Linked DNA regions of Homo sapiens: regions 2 and 3 are each linked to region 1. Evidence: promoter capture Hi-C in 16 types of primary human blood cells and fetal thymus (Javierre and others, 2016). All regions are on one chromosome and are shown on one strand. The core of a region is centred on a gene start or on the middle of the fragment in contact, and the rest is flanking DNA. Distances in the headings are between cores, read along the strand shown.

Region 1 (2,871 bases), core at 30-2,529:
AACAGGCATCCCAAGGGGGTTGGCAGCAGCAATCACTGGTGAGCCTGCCAGAGGTCCAAGGGGTGAAGGAGTTGGCACTGAAGAAATCCCTGACATCACATTGGCGCTGCTGACGGGCGTACTGCCCCCTGGCATGCTAGATGAACCCATTCGAGCCTGGTCCTTCACAACAGTGTAGAAATAGGGGTGCTCCATGGCCTCTCTTGCAGTAAGCCGTGACTGGTGGTCATATCGCAGCAGTTTGTCCAGGAAATCCAAGGCCTCAGGGCTGACAAGGTGCTGATTTTCACTGTGGACAAAGCGTTCCCATCGCTTTCGAGAGTGTCTGCCCAAGATATCATTGAAACGTGGATCTAATTCAATGTTGTATTTGTCAATATAGCCATATAAATCTTCTGTCCCCAGAAACTTGGCTATCCTCACCAACTGATCATAATTGTCACGTCCATGGAAAAATGGCTCCTTCCGAAAGATCATACTTGCCAGCATACAACCCAATCTCCACATATCCAAACTATAATCGTACATCTGATAGTCTACAAGTAGCTCAGGACCTTTGAAGTATCGGGAAGCAACTCGGACATTATATTCTTGGCCAGGATGATAAAACTCAGCCAAACCCCAGTCTATTAGTCGTAGCTTTCTGTGCTCATGATCAATCATGACATTATGGGGCTTGACATCTCTGTGCATAATTCCCATGCTGTGACAATAATCCAGGGCCTTCAGAATCTCATACATGTAAAATCGAATATCATAGTCTGTTAACGTCTGGTACAATTGCTTGAAGTCTGTGTTGTTTACGTGTTCAAAAACCAAGGCGGGGGTTCGTGACACAGGGTCTTTTACAATGTCTGCCAGTGTGATGATGTTGGGACCTCCTCTCAAATTCTCCAAAATCTTTATTTCACGCTTAATTTTCTTCTTTTTTACTGGCTTGAGAATTTTAACAACAACTTTTTCATTATTTGTGATGTTGATGGCTTCAAATACTTCACTGTATTTACCTCGGCCTAATTTTCGAACCAGCTGGTAGTCATCTTGATTTCCCCATTCCACCACATGTGACTCGTAATCCCAGTATTCTCGAGGTCTGTGTGTATTAACATCTGTGTAAACTCTGGCCCTGCTTGGCACGGGTCCCGACATGTCAGACAGGTTGGCGGACAAAGCTGGACTTGATGTTTGGAGATCTGGCAGTCACTGTGTTCAGAAGCAGCTTGGGGGTAAGACCTTGTTTCAGACCTGTTTTCTTCACACTGTGGTGGAAGCGGCAGCGGCTGTGGCCGCTCTCCCTTCTGCTCACACAGACAATATGGCGGCGATGGAGTGGGGAGCAATTTTCTAAAATCCAAATAAAAACCTTCCCATCTCTAATCTGAGAGTCATTTTTATCAGCTAACTGGGCTCATCTATTTACTCAGCATATTCAGAGCCCTTTTTGGGGGTTAAGTCCCTTTCAATTGCTGTGAGGCACCGTCTCCTTGTGGACATGCTTGTGCTATCCAGCTGCTATTCAAAGCACATCTCCTGGACCATGTTTAATTTATACTTTCCTATATGAAGATGAACCACTTACTCACTTAAAGTATTTCTTTTTTTATGTCTCTAATCAGTGGCTGTTTCTTTCCTCTCTCTGAAGCTTAATCGAATCAGAAACAAATCCCACACATATGAATGGCTCATTAGCATGTCCCAGTCAGATTCAAATTGGCCGTCCATACCAGATGCCCCCAAAAGGATAACACTGGCCCAAAGAAGGACTCTTTAAACGAGTGTCCAAAGGGTGTTGCCATGATAAGCCAGGAGGGTTCTTTCTGAAATCCAGGGTAGATACACTCTGTCATTCCCAGCACCATAGAGCCAACTGATGGCAGGTAATGGATGTGTCATTGAGATGGGGTTGGTGGGAGGCAATGTGGCCAAGCCTGGGGAGCAGACATCAGAGGAATGTCTGGTGTCTATGTGTCTGGCTCAAGCATCATCCTCACACTTGGCTCAGTGGGGCCCTTTTATCAAATGATACAAATGAGGCTGAGATGCTGAACATTCTCTCGCTCAGAAATGATATTTGTTCTAAAGAGCTTCCCCTCTTAATCAAATGAAACTCAGATTATAAACACTGGTATGCTACATCTTCTCTTAAAGGATTTGCTCTTTTCATAGACATCAGAATGAATCGTCAGCATGGGCATCATCACTGGTGTCATCTCTGAAAGTCACCGATAGCAAACTCTCATTTAATACAGATTTACAAAAGAGATCAGCATACTGCAATAGAGTAGAACTGAAGGGAACCTAACCAGGACCTCCCTTCATTTCCCAGGTGAGCAAACTAAGGTTCAGGGTCACAGGATAATTTAGAAGCACAGTAAGATATGGATCCAAGAGCCTGCCTTTTGGAAGACAGGAAGTCATTATGGTTCAGAGCATAGCCTCTGGGGCCAAACAGTCTTGGTGTCAAGTCCTACATTTCCCATTTGCTGAACTGGTGACTTTAGGCAATTCACTTCACCTTCCAACACTCAGTTTCCTTGTCTATGAAATGGAGATAAAAGTGATAAATTCCAAAGATAGTTGCTGTGAGAATTAAATGAAGTAATACACAGAGACAGTTTATTTCATCACCTGGAAGAAGTTTAGAGGCCCCTAAGTATCAGCTATAATTATTATCACTATAATATTCCACTGATGATAAGATTCACTATTGCTATACCACAGCTTTTCGGGACAGGGGAAAACACACTACATTCCTCTGAGCTCAAGATTTATATACCCAAGTGCCTACGTCTCACCTTCACTCTCATGTGTCTCAGGCATCTCAACCTTACCATGTCCAAAACGAAGTTCCCGATTTTCTTCCCTGCCTCC
Region 2 (2,700 bases), core at 51-2,550, 220 kb after region 1:
GAAGCCCCCCAAGGCTCTAGTCCTCTAATGACTAGGTCAGATCAAAGTCAGAGTTCCCAGTGAACACCAGCTTTCTGGTGGGACATGCCTCTTCCTGGGCAGTGAGGCCCACTGTGCAGATCAACCGCATGTCCAGGAGCCCTTGCAATGGGCTGAGCTGGCTTTGGCCACCTCTTGTCAATTAGCCATGTCCAGGCTAATTGACAAGAATATTTTGACAAAGGATGTTTCAATCCTATTTAAATAGACTTTCTCCACAAATCCCATAACACGTAATGAGGTTATTTTATCTAGAAAGATATCCAATGACCTGGAAAAAAAAATTGGTGTGTGTTAAAGTGACCCTATGTCTGCATTTCCACAAGCTTCTCTAAAACTTACTGACGACAGTATCTGCCTGGCTACAGACTGTGAAGGTGTTTATTCATTCCAGAGTCCCTTTCCTGTCCCTCTGCCCTGGGGAAACACAGTGAGCTGTATGCCCAGCAGTGTAGACCACAGACCCCACACTAACTGGGCATAGGAATTCCCTGGGAAGCACTTTACAAATACAGATTTCCAGGCTCCCCCACTGAAGAGCATGATTCAGCAGATCTGAGGTGTGGCACAGGACTCTGTATTTTCCTGGTTCTCCAGCTCTCCCTGTGCAAGCAGGCCTGTGCCGCAGGGCGTGGGCATCATCGAGTAGTGGTGTGGATGCTGTTGGCATGTAGTGTCTTGCCGGGATCCAGGCCTAGCCACTCCTTTCTGTGGGATCCTTGACCACGTAACCACTCGGCCTCAGTTTCTTTATCTAGAAGAGGGGTACACAAATACACGGCCTGCTTGCTCCTTGGGTGGCTTTCAGGGATCAAGGGAGGTGGTATGAGTAAAATAATAACAAGAATTAACATTTATCAACTGTCAGCACCAGATGAAGCACTTTGCCTGAATAACTTAGTCTTCATGAAAATTGTATGAGTGTGTTACTGTTGCTATTTCTGTTTTAAAGGTAAATAACCGAGACAGAGTTTAGGCAGCTAATCCAAAGACACCCAGCTTGGGATGTGAACTTGGGCATGAGTCAGGGCCCTGGCTCCGCTACAGTCGCTCCTGGCCAGTGCTGTGTCTGTGTGAGAAGCTGTCTTAGATTCAGCTTTCCTGCTATGTCCCTCTCTGACAGCATTGGGATGTGAAGTTCTACACAGAGCAATGGTGCAGGAGGACCCCTGAACATTCAACATGGCTGCCCGGTGCCCTTCTGAGGAAGACAAGGAACAGATGGCCCTCGCAACCCTCGCCTTCCTGCCAACTATTAGGATGCAGAAGCAGGCGCCAGCTTCTGCTCACAGGAAAGAAGAAAAACACAATGGCAGTAACAACTCCAACTGGGGCATGAGTTGCCATTTTGAATTGCCAAGGCTGGAGACCAAAAATATTGAGAAGTCTTAAAACAATGGCCCCTTAAATTTGTACATTTGACAAAGAGGAGAGGGTGCTACCATTTACTGAGCACCTACTCTGTGCAAAACTCTTTCAAGTGGTCACTTCTCTTAGTCCTCACAGTAGTCCCATGAAGGAGGACGTTATCTTAGCCCATTTTACAGATGAGAAACCTGGGTCTCAGAGATACTAATGAAAGTAACCCAGGGCCAGCAAGGAGTGGACACTGGGTCTGAATTCACATTGAACTGGTTCCAAAACCCTGCCTTTCTGAACTACAGCGCCCCTCCAGAGAGCATGTTCATGTTCATTATGGTGGGCGGCCTTGACTCATACTTGACATGGATGTCCCAGAGATTCCCTACACACAGCTTTCAATACTGAAGATGGAGCTCTCTGTCCCCGGGTGGGGCCGCAGCATCACAGTGCCTGTGGGAAGGCTGGGCAGACTGAAATAAAAGGGATTTCTGCCTGCTCCTTCTCTTACACTAAGGTACATGTGCCCACCTAAGTATCAGCCAAGCCAAGGAGAAAAGCCACAATTAACTGAGCACTTACTTGGTGCCAGGAACTTGCTCACAAACGATATTAAAATTTTACAGCAACCATGCCAGACTAGGTCTTATTTTCCTTATTTTACAGATGCAGAACCTGATGCCCAGCAAAGGGGAAAGGATAGCAGGAGCCTTGATCCACCCAGGAAGAGGTGCCAGCTGGATCAGCAAGAGGCTGGTGGAGAACAAGAAGCTGCTATGAACCAATCTTTAGAAAACAGCAGGATCTCCGAGGAGAGAAAGAATTTCTCTCCAGCCAAAAGCTTCATGAGATGGAAGGGGATATCCTATCTCCTATATTGTATCCTCATCATGGTCTCAATAAACCCACTTGGAAGATGCCCATGCATGAGCGTCGACGGTGACTTCCCGAGGCTGGACGGCGATCCTTCCCACTGCAGAAGGCGGGGTGCTGAGCACTGTGCTGGGGCTTTCTGTGCACCATCTTCATTTGGTGCATTTTGAGGGGTCATTCATTCTATCAACATCTCATTATAGAAGGCAGAGTTCAGAGAAATTAGGATGGCTGCCCAAGGTCACCTAACTACTCTGAGAAAGAGCTGACATTCAAATCTAGGCCCCTGAGCCTGAGCTTTCCACATGACACTGTAGCATCTTTCAACAATCAGAGGACAATCTAGGCAAGTCAATTATTGTAGGTATGTGGCTCCCCATGCCCCATGGGAGAGGAAGGGTACATACTGCCTCATAAGAAGTTCTATCA
Region 3 (2,819 bases), core at 254-2,753, 240 kb after region 1:
CCCATCATTATGTGATACATGACTGTATAGATAAAGCATCTAACACGGTCCTTGGCTCATGGTTGACTTTACTGGATGAGCCTCACTGCGTTCCTTCTCATCCATGTTTCTCAGGCTCCTCATTTGTAAATGCAAATTATTCCAATCACATCCTTCCAATTTTATAGGCAAGTGGGGAGGGAGACCATAACAGCCTCCATTTCTCTTCCTACTTTACATCTCCAACTACAGTCATTCTGCCCACAAGGAAAGCAGCCCCCCCAGTGAGTCCTGCTGTCATTTTAAAACAACTTTATGGAAATGCTCCCTCCTGGGTGAATGTATGTGGTTAAAGGAGGCTGAGATAGTAATAGAAGTGCATTTTCTTTAGTGCCAGATGGAAATACAATGAGCCCAGCCATACAGATGTGCTCCCATACCCTTTGAAGGGACAAAAATACACACATTATCAGATTTGGGTCCTGAGAACACACCTATAATCTTGAAAGCCAATACCCAGCTGTGATTAGATGTTATGAAGATTTAAGGGTTTTGAGTTTGATGTAACACAGTCCTCAAGATCAGACCACATAGAGTCAATTCCTATCCCAACACATGCTGACTGAGTGACCTCAGATACATGATTTAATGTTTCTGTGCCTCAATTTTATAATAGAAAAAGGGGATAATAATAGCATATCTCAGTTTGTTGCTGTGAAGATAAAGTGAGATAATTTGTGCATAGCATTTAGCATGGTACCTGGCATGTAATAAAACTCAATAAATGCTAGCTATTTGGCACAAACCAGAAAAACTTTTCAGCAAGTTAAGGAGATTCCTATTTCTCTAAGCAAGTCCCTAGAAACATCATCAATCTGTCTCTGGCAGGCGTTTTTCTATTTAATGACTCTAAAGAGACAGAAAAGCTTTAATCAATGCCCGGAAGTGAAATGCTAAGAAATTATATGCACGGTTACGAAAAAAAATCAAAGATGTTTCCCACACATTGTCCAGCAGACAAAAACATATTGACATGCTGTTCCTGCAAGGAAGTGGACTGAGTTTTCTAGATAATGTTTGAGCAATTCATCCTTCCCGCAACTGTCCTCCACTTTCCAGGCAAATAATACCTCCAGCCAAATAAGGGGTTCACTCCCTCAAGTTCCTACCATGGCTCCCTGGCAGAACCATGCTCCCTCACCTTACCCCCACACACAGCACACGCCCTGGGTCTGGCACAAGCTCAAAACAACTTTCAGTTACGAAAAAGGGTATAAACCGCCATTCCTTCTTAGAAAACCAGAAAGATGGTGAGAAACAGTGGGAACATCCTTCATGTAAAAATCCCACCACTCCCCAAAGCACATTTGGGAGTTCCAACTCTTTGAAAAGCCAAAAAACAGGAAAGGGGCTGATTTATTAGGCAGTCTGGGGCCCATACTGAAAATTTTTTGACATATCTTCAAAGTATAAAGAGAAGGCAAGATATTCTGTCAATTTAACCAAGTCATTTCCTTCTTAAGGCCTCTGGTTACCTTTCTTGTAGATAAAATGCTAAGGGTCAGACCAGAACAGAGGACGCCCATGCTTCGCGTTGTTTTTTTCTGTTTGTTTTTTGTTTTTGTCTCTGTCTCCCAGGCTGGAGTGCAGTGGCGCAATCTCAGCTCACTGCAAGCTGCGCCTCTCGGGTTCACGCCATTCTCCTGCCTCAGCCTCCTGAGTAGCTGGGACTACAGGCACCCCCCAACGCTCGGCTAATTTTTTGTATTTTTAGTGGAGACGGGGTTTCACCGTGTTAGCCAGGATGGTCTCGATATCCTGACCTCGTGATCCGCCCGCCTCGGCCTCCCGCTTCGTTTTAAGTCTGTCCAATGCAGCTCCCTTTAGGCAAGACGTACAGTCTTTACTTCTCTACAGGTTATAACTGTGCCCTGTTCTATCATAACAAACCCATACCACCCATTTACGTTGCCTGCCTAGCATTTCAGTTTGCGGACCCTGGAATAGAGGGTCTCAAGCCATTCTTGGTACTTTGTCAGCTCATGAGTCTAAAAAAATCTATGAGGTGAGAAGCCCATACTAAATCCTTTCCTCAGTTTTCCCAGTTTCTGAAAGGTACTATGAAGCTTGGCCTTCCTTCTCTGCAAACAGACACTGATGTTAACAAAGGGGCTATAAGATGCGTGAGGAACTTTGTTCCTTTTTGTCCACGTGTCCAAATGTTAGCAAGATGCTTTATAGCCAGACCACATCTAATTTTTTTTTCTACCATTTCCAGAGGCTTCTTATAAGTGATTGTCACCCTTTAAAAATTTCCAGGCTTTAGTCCAATATGGTGGCTCATGCCCCTAACCCCAGTGCTGTGTGAGGCAGAGGCAGGAGAATGGCTTGAGGCCAGGAGTTTGAGACCAGCCTGGGTAACACAGCAAGACCCCATTTCTAACAAAACAATAAAATAAAGTAAAATAAAATAAAAATTTCCAGCCTTTCTCAATTGCACTGTCAAGTTCCAAGATGACCCTTGGAACATAAAATTTTCATATGAGCCTCATGCTCATTGGAATATGATTCCCCTGCCTTGCATTTGGCTTTTCAAAGAATTGGTCTTCATGTTTGTACTTTGTGGATTCATAGAGATTTAGATGAAGGATGCTTTTCTCTTGCTTCTCAGCTCCTTTCTGCTTTGCTAGGCTACATAGTAGATTCTCCGTTTTGGAATTGAAGGTAGTTTTCACTCTGTGCCAGACTCTGTGTATGTGCATTTGTGTATCTATACATGAGAGAGAGGAGAAAGCACAGTATTTTTTTAGAAGAATGTCAGGTCCAGGTGGCCACAGTTC

What was found. Contacts are between HindIII fragments. The CHiCAGO score rates a contact against its expected background, and 5 or more counts as called.
Region 2: a contact is called between a fragment that was not itself captured here and the fragment with the promoter of CSNK2A3 in region 1, in 1 of 17 cell types (endothelial precursors). The highest score is 5.1, in endothelial precursors.
Region 3: a fragment that was not itself captured here is called in contact with the fragment with the promoter of CSNK2A3 in region 1 in 1 of 17 cell types (endothelial precursors); the score reaches 7.4 in endothelial precursors.

Annotation. Positions count from the first base shown.
Region 1 is chr11:11,351,971-11,354,841 of GRCh38, forward strand. It overlaps CSNK2A3 (casein kinase 2 alpha 3), which reads right to left and starts at 1,280. Exons shown (of 1, transcript NM_001256686.2): 1 at 1-1,280. The coding sequence starts at 1,149. All of the region lies in intron 6 of GALNT18 (polypeptide N-acetylgalactosaminyltransferase 18), which reads right to left. The HindIII fragment of the contact is 3,495 bases long and covers 1-1,640 here.
Region 2 is chr11:11,571,461-11,574,160 of GRCh38, forward strand. All of the region lies in intron 1 of GALNT18 (polypeptide N-acetylgalactosaminyltransferase 18), which reads right to left. GALNT18-AS1 (GALNT18 antisense RNA 1) reads left to right here. Exons shown (of 2, transcript XR_007062595.1): 2 at 2,065-2,317. Among named protein-coding and RNA genes, the nearest start is that of GALNT18-AS1, 2.8 kb to the left of the region's middle. The HindIII fragment of the contact is 1,874 bases long and covers 364-2,237 here.
Region 3 is chr11:11,591,344-11,594,162 of GRCh38, forward strand. The region is part of intron 1 of GALNT18 (polypeptide N-acetylgalactosaminyltransferase 18); the gene reads right to left. Among named protein-coding and RNA genes, the nearest start is that of GALNT18-AS1, 23 kb to the left of the region's middle. The HindIII fragment of the contact is 1,200 bases long and covers 904-2,103 here.